Regions from separate parts of the Homo sapiens genome. Here region 2 is linked to region 1. The links are contacts of gene promoters, found by promoter capture Hi-C in blood cells and fetal thymus (Javierre and others, 2016). All regions are on one chromosome and are shown on one strand. The core of a region is centred on a gene start or on the middle of the fragment in contact, and the rest is flanking DNA. Distances in the headings are between cores, read along the strand shown.

Region 1 (6,549 bases), core at 2,350-4,849:
TTGGGAATCTCATGAGCCCCTCTTTGGGTTCAGTTAATTTGCCAGAGTGGCTCACAGAACTCAGGTAATCAAATTTACTAGTTTATTATAAAGGATATACAGATGAAGAGATACACATGGCAAGGCATGCCCTCCCTGGGAACACCACTCTCCAGGAACTTCCTTTTGCTCCTATCCAGCAGCTCTTCGAACCCTCTCCTCTTGGGCCTTTTATGGAAACTTCATTGGATAGGCATGACTGACATCCGTGTAGAAATGTGACTGGACAAAAAAGATATGATCTAATACTAATAGACTGGGGAAACCCAGCAAGGCCTGTCCAGATTCTTCCTGGCCTCTCTGGGTAGCATTCCTTTCTCCAGGGTATGGGGTAGGAACTCTTCTGAAATGAAAGTCTTATGACCCATAATCAGAAAGGCAGGGGAAGATTAGAGTCCTGCTTTGGGCAGGTGAAAGGAGGGCAGAAGGCCAGAGAGAGATTCTGTTTTCTGAGGCTTGCTTCAAGAGCTCCAACATTATAACGAAAGCTAGGGGAGTTATGAGCTAGGAACCGTGGACAAAAACTAACATACATATATCACAATATCACAGATACTCAACCTGTACTGCTGGCATAAGGATAAATTAGTACAATTTTATGAAGGCAATAGGTATTAAAAGCTTTAAAAATACTTATCCTTAAAAGAACTAACCACAAAATACAAACATAGCCAATTGGCACATAAAAATAGGCTCACCATCATTAGTCATGGGGAAATGGAAATTAAAATGCACATCACCAGGGGAAGAGAACCAATACGGAATCAGTTGACAGACAAATCTCAAGTATAAATTCAGAGAAAAGAGAAGGAGAAAATAATATATAACATCATAGCATTCATGAAAAATGTCAACCTTTTACTCTGAAATACTTTTAGACTTACAGAAAATCGCAAAAATGGTAGAGTTCTCCTACTCCCAGTTTCCTGATGTTAACATCTTACTTAACACAATTACCAAAATTTAAAAATGAACATTGGCATATTATTAACTACATACTTTACTGCCCCCCAATCTGTGGCATTTCCTCGGTTGTTCCTTGTTTTTCATGACCATGACACTTTTTTTTTTTTGAGACAAAGTCTCGCTCTTGTCCCCCCGCCAGGCTGCTTTAAATACTACTGATATTTGACTTCCACAACTATATATACTAACTTAATTGGTATGGGTATGACCTGGGCATGAGTTTTTTGTTGTTGTTGTTGTTTTTGAGTTAGAGTTTCGTTCTCGTTGCGCAGGCTGGAGTGCAATGGCACAGTCTCGGCTCACTGCAACCTACGCCTCCCGGGTTCAAGCGATTCTCCTGCCTCAGCCTCCTGAGTAGCTGGGATTACAGGCGCACGCCACCACGCCCGGCTAATTTTTGTATTTCGAGTAGAGACTGGGTTTCACCATGTTGGCCAGGCTAGTCTCTAACTCCTGACCTTAGGCGATCCACCCACCTCGGCCTCCCAAAGTGCTGGGATTACAGGCGTGAGCCATCGCGCTCGGCCTAGCATGGGGATTTTTTTTTTTCCTAGACAGAGTCTCCGTCTGTCACCCAGGCTGAAGTGCAGTGGTGAGATCTCAGCTCACTGCAACCTCCATCTCCCGGTTTCAAGTGATTCCTCTGCCTCATCCCCATTAGCTGGGACTACAGGCGCGTGCCACCCCGCCCGGCTAATTTTTTGTATTTTTAGTAGAGACGGGGTTTCACCGTGTTAGCCAGGATGGTCTCGATCTCCTGACCTCGTGATCCGCCCGCCTCGGCCTCCCAAAGTGCTGGGATTACAGGCGTGTGCCACCGCGCCAGGCCGGGGATTTTTAAAAGCTCTCCAGGTAATTCCAATATGCAGCAGTTTGGGAGCCAAGACCTAAATAAGACAATCGAAACACCAGCAATCCATGATTTAAATACGAGAAACACAGGTTATACAGTTGAGTGAGCACCCAACTGTATTCTAAAAAAAGTTTTTCAAAAACTAACATTCACCTTGAAAAAAAAAACGTCTTACAACTGCAAAGCAGGAAGGTGAGTGGAAAGAAAAATAATTAAAATCAGAGCAGTCAAAGCATTAATTCCTTATAAATTCCAATCGACCACGCCTAAAACAGGCAGAATGTGATACTTTAAACATTTACAAGTTAAAACTATAACATGCCAGAAGTCCCTCTACTTTGAAGTGGCTTTTCAGTAGTACTGGAACAGACTGAGCCAACAAATAGTATTGTAACACAAAAAAACACAGGCTAAGCACCATATTAGATCCAAATACCAGAAGTGGAGCAAGAATAGGAAGCAGTGATTTATGTTCAGCACACAATTTACTAAGCACACAATCACAAAAACAGACATGCAGACTTTAACAGATAATAAAGCTGTTGAGGTTTTCCGTTTATGTATTTACTGGAGAAAGCAAGAGCTTTATTTATTTATTTTTGAGACGGAGTTTCGCTCTGTCGCCCAGGCTGGAGTGCAAAGGCGCGATCTCGGCTCACTGAACCTCCGCCTCCCGGGTTCAAGCGATTCTCCCACCTCAGCCTCCCGAGTAGCTGGGATTACAGGCGCGCACCGCCACGCCTGTATAAAAATACTAAAAATGCAAACATAATTTTTGTATGTTTAGTAGAAACGGGGTTTCACCATGTTGGTGAGGCTGGTCTCGAACTCCTGACCTCAGGTGATCCGCCCGCCTCCGCCTCCCAAAGTGCTGGGATTACAGGCGTGAGCCACCGCGCCCGGCCAAGAGCTTTATAAAGATGGAAAATGAAGAAGACTTTCTGCCCAAGCCATGCTTTTGGATAAGGATTACACTACTTTGAAACCTTATACATAGCACTTGGCCAATTATCAAAACTGCACAAACCTTCACTGATTGCAATTATTCCCTTTAAACATCTCGAGTTACCCCAATCCGCACAAAACAAGTTTAGTGCCCACCAGGTAATAATACATCCAGGAAAGTAATTCCAAGAGAGAGGTTTAACAACTACAGGGAAAAACATACTTTTTTCTACAAGAAAAATCTTAGAAGACAGTACCAGGGCCTTATCCCTGTTAGCATGATTTATATTTCACGCAACCTTGGCCCAGTCACTGCTACATTATAAAACCAATAGCCAAGGCAACATAGAAAGTCTGAACACAGTGACAGCGAACGGTTCTAAATTTTCTTACCAAGGTAACAAACACCTGGCAAAACTGCCAGCAGCGGTTGCCGAAAATGCTGGGTTCGGTGCCTACTGGAAGGAAAATGGAAGGGCTCCTGAATATCTTTTCGCCTTTCTAGGAGCGGTCCAGTGAGTTTCGAGCGAGATTTATTCCCTGTGACGACGGAGAAACCGAGAAGGGATCGTAAAGGATCCTGCCCGGGCAACCGTCCCCAGCAGGGATCAGACGAGAGCGGCGCGCCCAGCAATGCAGCCGCCAGACTGAGGTCTGACAGCGCGCCCGCTGCGAAGGGCCGTTGACGCGGCTGCGCACCGCGGCCCTTCCGCCTCCCGCCCCGCCCACCTAGGCTCAACCTGCACACGGGAGCCGCCACTTCCGCGGGCGCGTGCGCAGTGGCGGGCCGGGCGCGTGCGCAGCGCCGGCTTCTTCCCAGCGCGAGTTGCTGCTAACGCTCCTCCTCCAGCTTCCCACCCCCGCCGCCCGCCGCGGCCCGGTACCAACGGGTGGTCTCGCCGAGGGAGCTGTCGTGCCTCGTGGTCCCGGGACTGCAGTGGTGTGCGCTCTCGGCGCGTGGCGCTAGGCATGGCGATGGATCAAGTAAACGCGCTGTGCGAGCAGCTGGTGAAAGCGGTGACGGTCATGATGGACCCCAACTCCACCCAGCGCTACCGGCTGGAAGCCCTCAAGGTAGCTGGGGTCCTGGCGTCCTGGGCCGGTCCCGACACCCTCTCCCAGCCCCAGCAGCTCCGGCGCCGCCTGTAACTGGGGTAGTCTCCCGCCCACGCGGCCCCTGGACCTCCTTTCCCAACTCCCCGGGACCTTCCCCTCGCGGCCCTCCGCGCCTCTCCCAAATCGCCGCCTTCTCTACTCGCCGCTCCTGTCCTTTGCCTGGGACACTCCGGTCCCTATGCTGCTTCTCATCTCGCCGCAGCTTCCCACAGCCCTCTCCTCCCCCTTTCCTCGCTTCTGTGCACTCTTGTCCGCAACATGACCCTCGCCCATTTTCATTCCCCAAGCCCGACATCCCCTCGCCTTCCCGAGGCGCACGTGTAGATCCCGCCCCCAACACCAGCTTCGTTCTTTATGGTCTCTCCTGCACTAAACGTTTTCCTGCTGGCCCACTCCCCTGGCCCTGACCGAGCTCCAGCCCCTCTGGTACCCTTATGCTTATATGCTTTAACATCTCGCTAACTTTCGTTTGTGTCTTGGACATTTTCCGGGGAAATTCTCGCACCCCTACTTCTCCCATGTTTTTGAGTGTAATATTTTTAGGCTATTTTGCGCAAAGATAACTTCTACCACTTACTTTGCATTTTAACAAGGGCACTTTGGTTTCCTGAAAGTAGTTTGCGTGAGACCCGAATGCTCTGCTCTTGGGACTGACTTATGTTGCAGTTTGGGGGTGTTAATACAATTCAAGCTTACTTGCCCATAAAACAACGTGTGTGGGCTGTGAGAAATGGCCATTTAGGAGAAAATACTTGTGCTGTACATTTTTAAAGTGATGTTAACTTCAAAAAAGAGAGTGACCACCACTTGGAGGAAATGTTACAATATGTAGATGTCTGCCACAGGGTTTGGAATCAGAAACAATTGGGTTCCATTAGTTTGGTTTTTATTATTAATATTTAAAATAGACACAAAAGTGGAGAGAATACGACAGTGATTCTGCATGTTCCTGTCACCTAAATTCAGCAATCAAAGATTTTACCGCATTTACTTTTTCCACCGCCTATCCTCTCTCCCTGCCTCGAAGGTTTTTAAAAGAAACCCTAGAAATTGTTATTTCACCCCTATGTACGTCAGGGGGATGTCTCTAACAAATAATTTCTTATTCCTTTGTGTCCATTTTTTTCCAACACTAGTAGGGCTACTGTTGGCCGTAGCATGGAAAAAATCTGGAACCATCACGCTGGAAGGAATGTTTATCAGTTCTTTATTCATAATATATATATAATATATACACATAAAATAGAGTGAACACCACTTGGAGGAAATGTTATATATGTGTAACTTTTATATATTTTATATTTTTATTTTTATATTAAATATATATTTTTAAAGCAACTGTGCTTGGAGATCCACATAATATTGATCTAGGTTTTGCAACTTTAAACATATAGCTTAGGTTGGAGTTTCTTTTTGAGTAGGGTCTCACTCTGGTTGTCCAGGCTGGCGTGCAGTGGTGAGATCTCGGCTCACTTCAGCCTTGATTTCTCGAGCTCAAGTGATTCTCCTACCACTTCAGCCTCCTGAGTAGCTGGGATTACAGGCACCTGCCACCATGCCCGGCTAATTTAAAAAAATATTTTTAGTGGGCCGGGCACAGTGGCTCACGCCTGTAATCCCAGCACTTTGGGAGGCCAAGGCAGGTGGGTCACCTGAGGTCAGGAGTTCAAGACCAGCCTGGTCAACATGATGAAACCTTGTTTCTACTAAAAATACAAAAATTAGCTGGGTGTGGTGGCGTGCACTTGTAGTCCCAGCTACATGGGCTCAGGAGGCTGAGGCAGGAGAACTGCTTGAACCTGGGAAGCAGAGGTTGCAGTGAGCCGAGATCATGCCATTGCATTCCAGCCTGGGCGACAGAGTGAGACTCCGTCTCAAAAAAAAAAAAAAAAAATATATATATATATATATATTTAATAGAGATGGGGTTTCGCCATGTTGCCTAGGCTAGTCTCAGACTCCTAGACTCAAGTAGTCCACCCATCTCAGCCTCCCAGAGTGCTGGGACAGGTGTGAGCCACCGCACCCGGCCCTGGTTGGAGTTTCTTAAGATGAAATTCTTTTAGTCCCTATTCTCTCAGCCCTCGAAAGGAAACACTAACTTTTCTTCTTTCAGTTTTGTGAGGAGTTTAAAGAAAAGTGTCCTATCTGTGTCCCCTGTGGCTTGAGGTTGGCTGAGAAAACACAAGTTGCCATCGTCAGACATTTTGGCCTTCAGATCCTGGAACACGTTGTCAAGTAAGGAGCTCTTGGACATTACCACTGAAGTCTGAGAGAACAGATCTTTATATCTTATATAACCTATAGAGATGCTGTTTAGGTGAGTAGAGAAGAGCAATCTCCAAGAAGAGAGGAATGATCCCCTAGATGTTATCAGAACCTCACAGGAGCTCTCATTCAAGATTTAACCTTTCTTTTCTTCAGTTTCTTCATCCATGTAAAGTGTGTGGTACATATTACCCATTCAACAAATATTACCTGCCATTTAGCCAATACTTACTGAGCTCTGACTATATGTCATTAGCCCTCGAAGCCTTTTTAGAGTAATGCAATGTATAGGTCAATGAATCTCTGATTAGGCACTGTGGCTTTCTTTTTTCTCTCTGTCTTTCTGAGTTTGTGTGCCTTCT
Region 2 (6,549 bases), core at 2,723-5,222, 500 kb before region 1:
GGGAAGCCGGGGCTTCTGGGAGTGGTTCTGGTGCTGCGTGGTCTTGGCTAGTTTTCATCTCTTGGAATATTTCCTCCCCTGCAAAATGAGTGGCTGGCAAAGGTGATCATCCAAATCCCCCTGCACTGGGATTCATGGCAGGAGTCTGCGGGGGGACACCTGGACAACCCAGGATGAGACCCTGTGCCCTGGGGTGAGCTGGATGACAGGCTCAGGGAGTCATGGGGGCAGGGGGGTTCTCTCTGTGCAGCTGCCTCCTGGAGGGCCTTTTGGGGGCTAAAAGTACCACCCTGCAAGCTTCCCTCCCTGGCTTCTGCCCCCCTCCCCTGCCCCATTTTGTCCCCTTTGTTACATTCCACAGTGGAAAGCGATCCCTCTCTCAAGGCCTGAGGATTACAGTCAGGAGAAAAGCCTGGGTCGCCCTGGGAACACTCACGTAGCCTTTTCCCACCGGTGCCCTCCTCCTCCTGACAAAGGCTGGGGTAGGGGGATGATCCTGATGCACCCCAGCCTGAGGGAGCAGTAGGGTCTCTGGGGTTGGGGGGCTGGTCAGCCTTTCCCTCCCTCCCTGGGGTTCAGCAACCCCAGGGAGGGAGTGAACTGTGTTGAGAAGCCCCCAGTGGGCCCTCTCAGGATGCAATTGGGGCCTAGGTCCTGGGTTTCCATGTGCCTGGGCTCCCCCTGCCCCCTCACTTCTGCCCTGAACCCTCCCGCAGGCTGCAGTGCCACTCCCCATCCCTACTAAGCTGGGGATTTCCGCAGGCTGAGCCAACCGCCTGACCCTAATTATGGCGCCTTCATCCTGTTGAGGTTAAGCTCCCTATGACTTTCTCTCCCCCCACCCCAGAGGCCAGGCTGGGGGTCAGAGACTCAAGAGTCTCAAGCCTACTGTGCCCCCTCTGGAAAGGGTTGATGGGCCTGTGTCCCCTTGGGTGGTTGGGAGGCAGCTTCTTGTGGGTCTGGGTAGACAAGCTAAGATAGTTTCTCTGGGCCGGGTGCGGTGGCTCACGCCTGTAATCCCAGCACTTTGGAAGGCTGAGGCAGGCGGATCATGAGGTCAAGAGATTGAGACCATCCTGGCTAACACGGTGAGACCCCGCCTCTACTAAAAAAAAACAAAAAAAATTAGCCACGTGTGGTGGCAGGCACCTGTAGTCTCAGCTACTCAGGAGGCTGAGGGAGGAGAATGGCGTGAACCCGGGAGGCGGAGCTTGCAGTGAGCTGAGATTGCGCTACTGCACTCCAGCCTGGGCAACAGAGCGAGACTCCGTCTCAAAAAAAAAAAAAAGTTTATCTGGAGAGCCCTTAGGACAGAGGGGAGCCCTGGGGAGCTGACCTCTAGAGGGCTGGGAAGTCTGAAGATGGGGAACTCCTAGAGGACCCATTCTCAACCCTGGCTGCCTATAGAATCACCTAGAAATATTTTCTTAAAATTACCTTTGTCTTAGCCAACCCCTACCAATTTTGATTTCCTTAGTCAGGGCTGGGCAAACATGGGTATTTGAAAAATCCTCCCAGTGATTCCCATGTACAGCCAATCTGAGAATCCTGCTCTGTCCTCCGCCCCATGATGCCATCGAGGAGGCTGAGGCTCAGTGAGCAGAGGCCCTTGATGGAGGCCACCCCACTAGTTGGGGCAAGGTCGGGTCAGAATCTGAGGCTTCTAACCCCATGGCAGGCTCCTTCCTATAGGCCTCTTCTGTCCCCCAGGGGCTGGTCTGGTGTCCCACTGAGTGTCACCTGTATTCATTTCACCATTTGGGCACTGAGGAGCTGTGTGACCCTTGGCAAGTTGCTTAACCTTGGTTTCTTCTTTGTGATAATGGGCTCCAGTGATAAGAATTGGACAAAATGATGCCTGCAAAGTGTTCAGTGGCACTTGAGGGAAGAGTAGCCACTGTCCTGCTTTTTGCCTGGGGCAGGCCTGGTGCTGCAGGATCTGGGCAGAGGCCTCCTTGATCGTCCCCACCCATCAGGCAAGTGAAGCCCTTAGAGGTGGAACTTCGGAGGGTGGAGTCCCCGGGGAGTGGCCACCCCTGAGGCTCCCCAGGGCCCTGACAGGGAGTTGGGAGGTGTAGGGAAAGTGTGAAGAATGGCTTCCTTGCACACTCGACTTCATGCACTTCCAGGTGGCGGTGACAATGGTCAGGATTCTGCAGTTATATGAATGGCCACCAGGAGTCACCCTCAGCTCATGCTTGAAGTGAAGGCAGCACAGAAAAAGGGAAAGGAGCTGTAAGGGAGAAAAGGAGGAGGACACCCCACCACAGAGTGGATGAGCCTGGAGGGGACCCAAGGCTGCCAGAGTGGCTGCTTCATTTCTGCAGGAAGGTGCAGGACAGAACTCAGACTGGTGGGCACCGTGCCAGCAGGCAGAGGAGGGAGCAAAGGCTCATTTGTCTGCCTTCGGAATTCTCCTTCCCATGCTGATGTCAAATCACAATTCAACAGATTCTTCATGGGGCACCTGCTGCACACAGAGGGACAGGAATCTTACTGAACACCTAGTATATGCCAGAGCCTACACACACAGTGGGCTACTCAACATTCACAACAACTCTGTACAGTAAGTACAAATATTGGTCCCAAGATACAGATTGGGAAACTGAGGCTTATACCAGTTATGTGTTGTGCCCAAGGTCACCAAGCTGGATGAGGACTGACGCCTGTCTGGAGCCTAAATTCTTTCTCCTACACCAGATTGACTTCCAGAGAGTTCTAGGATACAAAGCTGGCAACAGACTTTCTGCCACGTAGAGGGATATGGCAGGTGACAACCCTGTCTGGCTCTGCTAATCAGGATCCAGTAAGAAGCTCAAGACAGGTGGCCACTCTGCTGGTAGGCAGAGGAGGGAGCTGTGCTCCCTGGGGTGGGTAGAAGTAAGGTTTGTGTGGGTGCTGGGTGTTGGACACGGGCAGGCTGCAGACATAGCAGCAATGAGGGGAGACTCTCTCAACCTGCCCATGTCCTCCTCTGAGCAATCTCCCCGCCCCAGAATTATTTCAGTTTCCTCATCTGTCAGTTCTAGGGGTGGACTTCATTCATTCAATACTGTGTCCCTGACCTCTGCTCCCTGCCAGGCTCTGAACTAGTCATGTGTCAGGCTGGATACTTAGATGGACAAGACAAGCCATCCCCTGCCCACAGCTGCCCCACCTGAAGTCTAGGCCAGTGACCTCCGAAGTTTTTTTGATCATGTGCCCTTAGCAATAAAAAAGATTGTTGAGTACGCACCCGTCAGATGAGTATGTTTTTATATAGTTTACCTTGTAAAACACACTCACACTAAATGAAAAAAGGATTCGATGAAAAATAAATAGGCATTCTAAAACTTTCTTCCAGTACCCCTGAACCACGCACACATATGGCACTTGGAACCCAACTGCTCCAGGAGCTGGGAGGGTAGGGTCAGTCCAGCCATACTCAGGACGGATGTGTGGTCAGTGTTCCAGAACATCCTTGCCCACCCCTTTATGCCCTAGCAAAGGAAGGGAGAAACTTCAGATACAGCAGGTGGGAGTGTGGGCAGATGGGAAGCGTAAGCAGGTTTATGTCTGAGGAGGCAGACAAGAGGCAGGTTTTTATTTTAGACTGTGATGTTGAAAATTTTGTGATCACTTTTTACACTGTCCCAGGACATACAGAACCAAGACATAGTGTCCCAAGTAGTATCTAATTTCATATACTTTAGGTAGTTCTATTCCATTTCCAAAGGTTTAGAATACCGCCCCACCTCAACCCCCAGGAAACTGGGGAGCACTCCCTCCACTACACACACTTGGGACACGAAGGACAGACCCTGGTTGGGGAGGCACTTAGGTGTCCCTTCCTTAGGGGCTTTATCTCTCACTTCCCCTCCTGGGTTGGAGGCTCCTGTGACCCCCTCGCCTGGGCAGGTCCCCATGCAGGGTAGAGCACTTGGAGGCCTCTGTAAACATGGGTTACAGGAGAGAGGGGGCAAGAGGCCACAGCTGGGGTACATAAGGAAACCCCTCTGTGGGCCCCCTTACTCAGAGAAGTCTCAGGAGAAACCCTTTCCCCCACCCCCAGTCCTGGCACCAAGCTGGAGAAAGACAAAATGGCTTGTGAAGGCATCTGTCTGCCCTCCAGGGTGGCTGCCAGGGGGGCAGCCATGATGGCTGGCCTGGTGTGGGTGCCTTTGTGTGCCATGACTGGGTGTCTGTTTCTGCAGTCACTAGGCGCTTGTTCTGTGGGGTGAGGGGTGTGGGGGTGGGGGCACGGCCTATGGCAGGGCACGTACGTGAGGCTGGGCACGAAAAGCCTCACCCACCTCCTGCCAGGTACAACCAGCTGCTGGGGCCAACTGCCGACCGCCTCCTCCCTTCCCTGGGCACGGCCAGGCCGGGGGGCAAATGACTTGGCAGGCACCTCCCCTCAGTTGGACCCACTAGGGCAGGGCCGGCTCACCTGGGGCACAGGCAGGGCTCCTGGCTGGGTGGGTGTTCTGCCAATCCCTTCCCCAACTCCTAAAGTGGGAGGGTGGTGGTGAGGCCAGGGAAGGGGCGCAGGTCAGAGATATGCCCCCTCTCCTCTCCCAGACTGTGCATGGGTAAAGCAGGGCAGAGAGGGGCTGGTGGAGGGGCGGGAAGTTTCTCTGTTTAGGGCCAGGAAATGATTTCCATGCAAATGAGATGCAAACTCCTTAATGAGTTTGCAATTAGGAGACCAAGGCTGCCAGGCCGGGCAGCGCCTGCAGGTTTTATGAATGGGCCAGCGTAGGCGGGGGGGAGGGGGCGCGCCGGCCCGCCCCCACATTTCCCTGCCGCGGCGCCCGCGACATGCCGCGCCGCACGTTGCTGCCTCCAGGCCCCGCCGCGACCTGGCCCACCGCCAGCGGGTCAGCTGCTCCGGACGGCGCGGGAGGCTGCCGGCCAGAGTCCCCGCCACGCCGCCGGCCGGCGACGCAAAGGAGCCGACGACACTCCCCCTGGGGCCCGGCAGGGGCTCTGTCCTCGGGCCCCCTTTTTTCCCGGTTATTGGAATGATTTCCCGAAGCAGGAAGGCCAGAAGTTAGCCTTCAGGCCCCGTTGTATTTAAAATGGGCTGCCCTGGGACTTCACTGACCAAAGGAGGGGGCTGGGCCCCTAACTTGGGTGACAGCAATGACCTTGGGAGGGATGGAATTATACGTGACAGGAGAGGGACCAGTTCCCATCCCAGAGCTCCTTGCACCTCTCCAATTCCCTCATGCCAGTCCACACCTCCCTAACCTCAAAAGGCCTGTTCCCACCACCCCAGGGCACCTGCTTTTTCTGCAGAGCCACCCTAGTCCACTTTGGGTCTTGCTCTGACCTGGGGCCCAGGAGAGGGTCTCCTAAGTGGGTGGGTACACACAGGTTTGCTGTGGTCCAGAAGGAGGCTGACCAGAGTTTGAGAGTTTGAGCCCAGTTAGGTCACAGCCCCCTACCTCCTCCCCTCCCCTCTCCTCCCCCTGTCCCCGCCCTGCCCCATTGCTTTCAGAGTAAATTAACTAATTACCTCCAATTAAAGCACCTGGCTCTCTGTATCCTCCTAGGCCTTCAATCACTGCTTCTGGGAGTCCTCTTCATCCAGGCAGGGTCTGGAAGGGGGCCTGACCAGTAAGTTGGAAGTCAGTGAATCAATGAAGTGGGGCGGGGAAGACAGGATGGAGGAAGCCCACAGTGCCATTTACTGCTTGGGAGTGGTCCAGGCAGCCAGGACCTCTGACTTGGCCAGCTTGCAGACTGAGGTTGGGTCTGGGGACTTGGGCCCTAGGGGGGCCTGTGAAGGCTGGGAGCAGGAGCTGCCTTTGGAGGTTAAGTCCCTGGTGAAGGGCCTGTGCAGATGTGTGCAGATGTCAAGGCCCTGAGGGTGACCCTAGAAGCCCCTCAGCAGGAGAAGCAACTTGAGGGTCAGGTCCTAGAAGCTAGCAGTTCTTGGCACCTGCTGCCTCCCTCACCCAGCAGGCAGGGAGAGACTCCAAATGCCTGTAGGCCCAACCAGTCCCTCCTGTCTTTAACCCCAGCTGGCTCCTCCTGCTGCTCAGGAAGTGAAAACCCCTCCATTCTTTTCTCCGGGCCCCCTTGGTGGCCCCCAGGCACAGGCCCAACACTAGCTCTGCCCAGCACTGTCCTGGCCCACCCCACGTGTAGGACGTGATGGGGAGGATACCTGGTGGCAGGAGGCAGACTGATGGATTGTTGACCTGGGTCTCACCTCTGGACGAGCTGGCCATTCCTGGGGACTGGGCAGGGTCACGCCAGGCTGTGACTCAGGCCCCTGCCCCACCATGCCAGGGACCTGGGCTTGGGCCATCCTCTGTGTATGTGGGGTGGGGTGGAGCAGAGGTTTGTCAATTGGAGGCTTCTCTTTGGGGACACCTCTCACAGCCCCAGGGAGCCAGACTATGACTAGAAGGATCAGGGTTTCCATGGCTGCTCCTCCCCACCCACCACCCCAATAGAGGCTGACAGGAAGGACTCCCAAGCAGGGCACAGCAGCCATATGAGTTAGTGGGTGTATGAGCCATCCAGGACAGGGGTAGGGCTCAGCACACAGGAAGGGCC

The links. Contacts are between HindIII fragments. The CHiCAGO score rates a contact against its expected background, and 5 or more counts as called.
Region 2: a contact is called between a fragment that was not itself captured here and the fragment with the promoter of XPO5 in region 1, in 10 of 17 cell types (erythroblasts, M1 macrophages, neutrophils and 7 more). The highest score is 10.6, in erythroblasts.

The regions. Positions count from the first base shown.
Region 1 is chr6:43,573,088-43,579,636 of GRCh38, reverse strand. XPO5 (exportin 5) reads left to right here and starts at 3,599. Exons shown (of 32, transcript NM_020750.3): 1 at 3,599-3,877; 2 at 6,036-6,157. The coding sequence starts at 3,773. It overlaps POLH (DNA polymerase eta), which reads right to left and starts at 3,452. Exons shown (of 11, transcript NM_006502.3): 1 at 3,197-3,452. RefSeq lists enhancers at 1,354-1,854, 3,183-3,432 and a silencer at 3,453-3,652. The HindIII fragment of the contact is 3,950 bases long and covers 663-4,612 here.
Region 2 is chr6:44,074,965-44,081,513 of GRCh38, reverse strand. No RefSeq gene overlaps it. Among named protein-coding and RNA genes, the nearest start is that of SCIRT, 3.6 kb to the right of the region's middle. RefSeq lists an enhancer at 5,782-5,851. The HindIII fragment of the contact is 7,345 bases long and covers 300-6,549 here.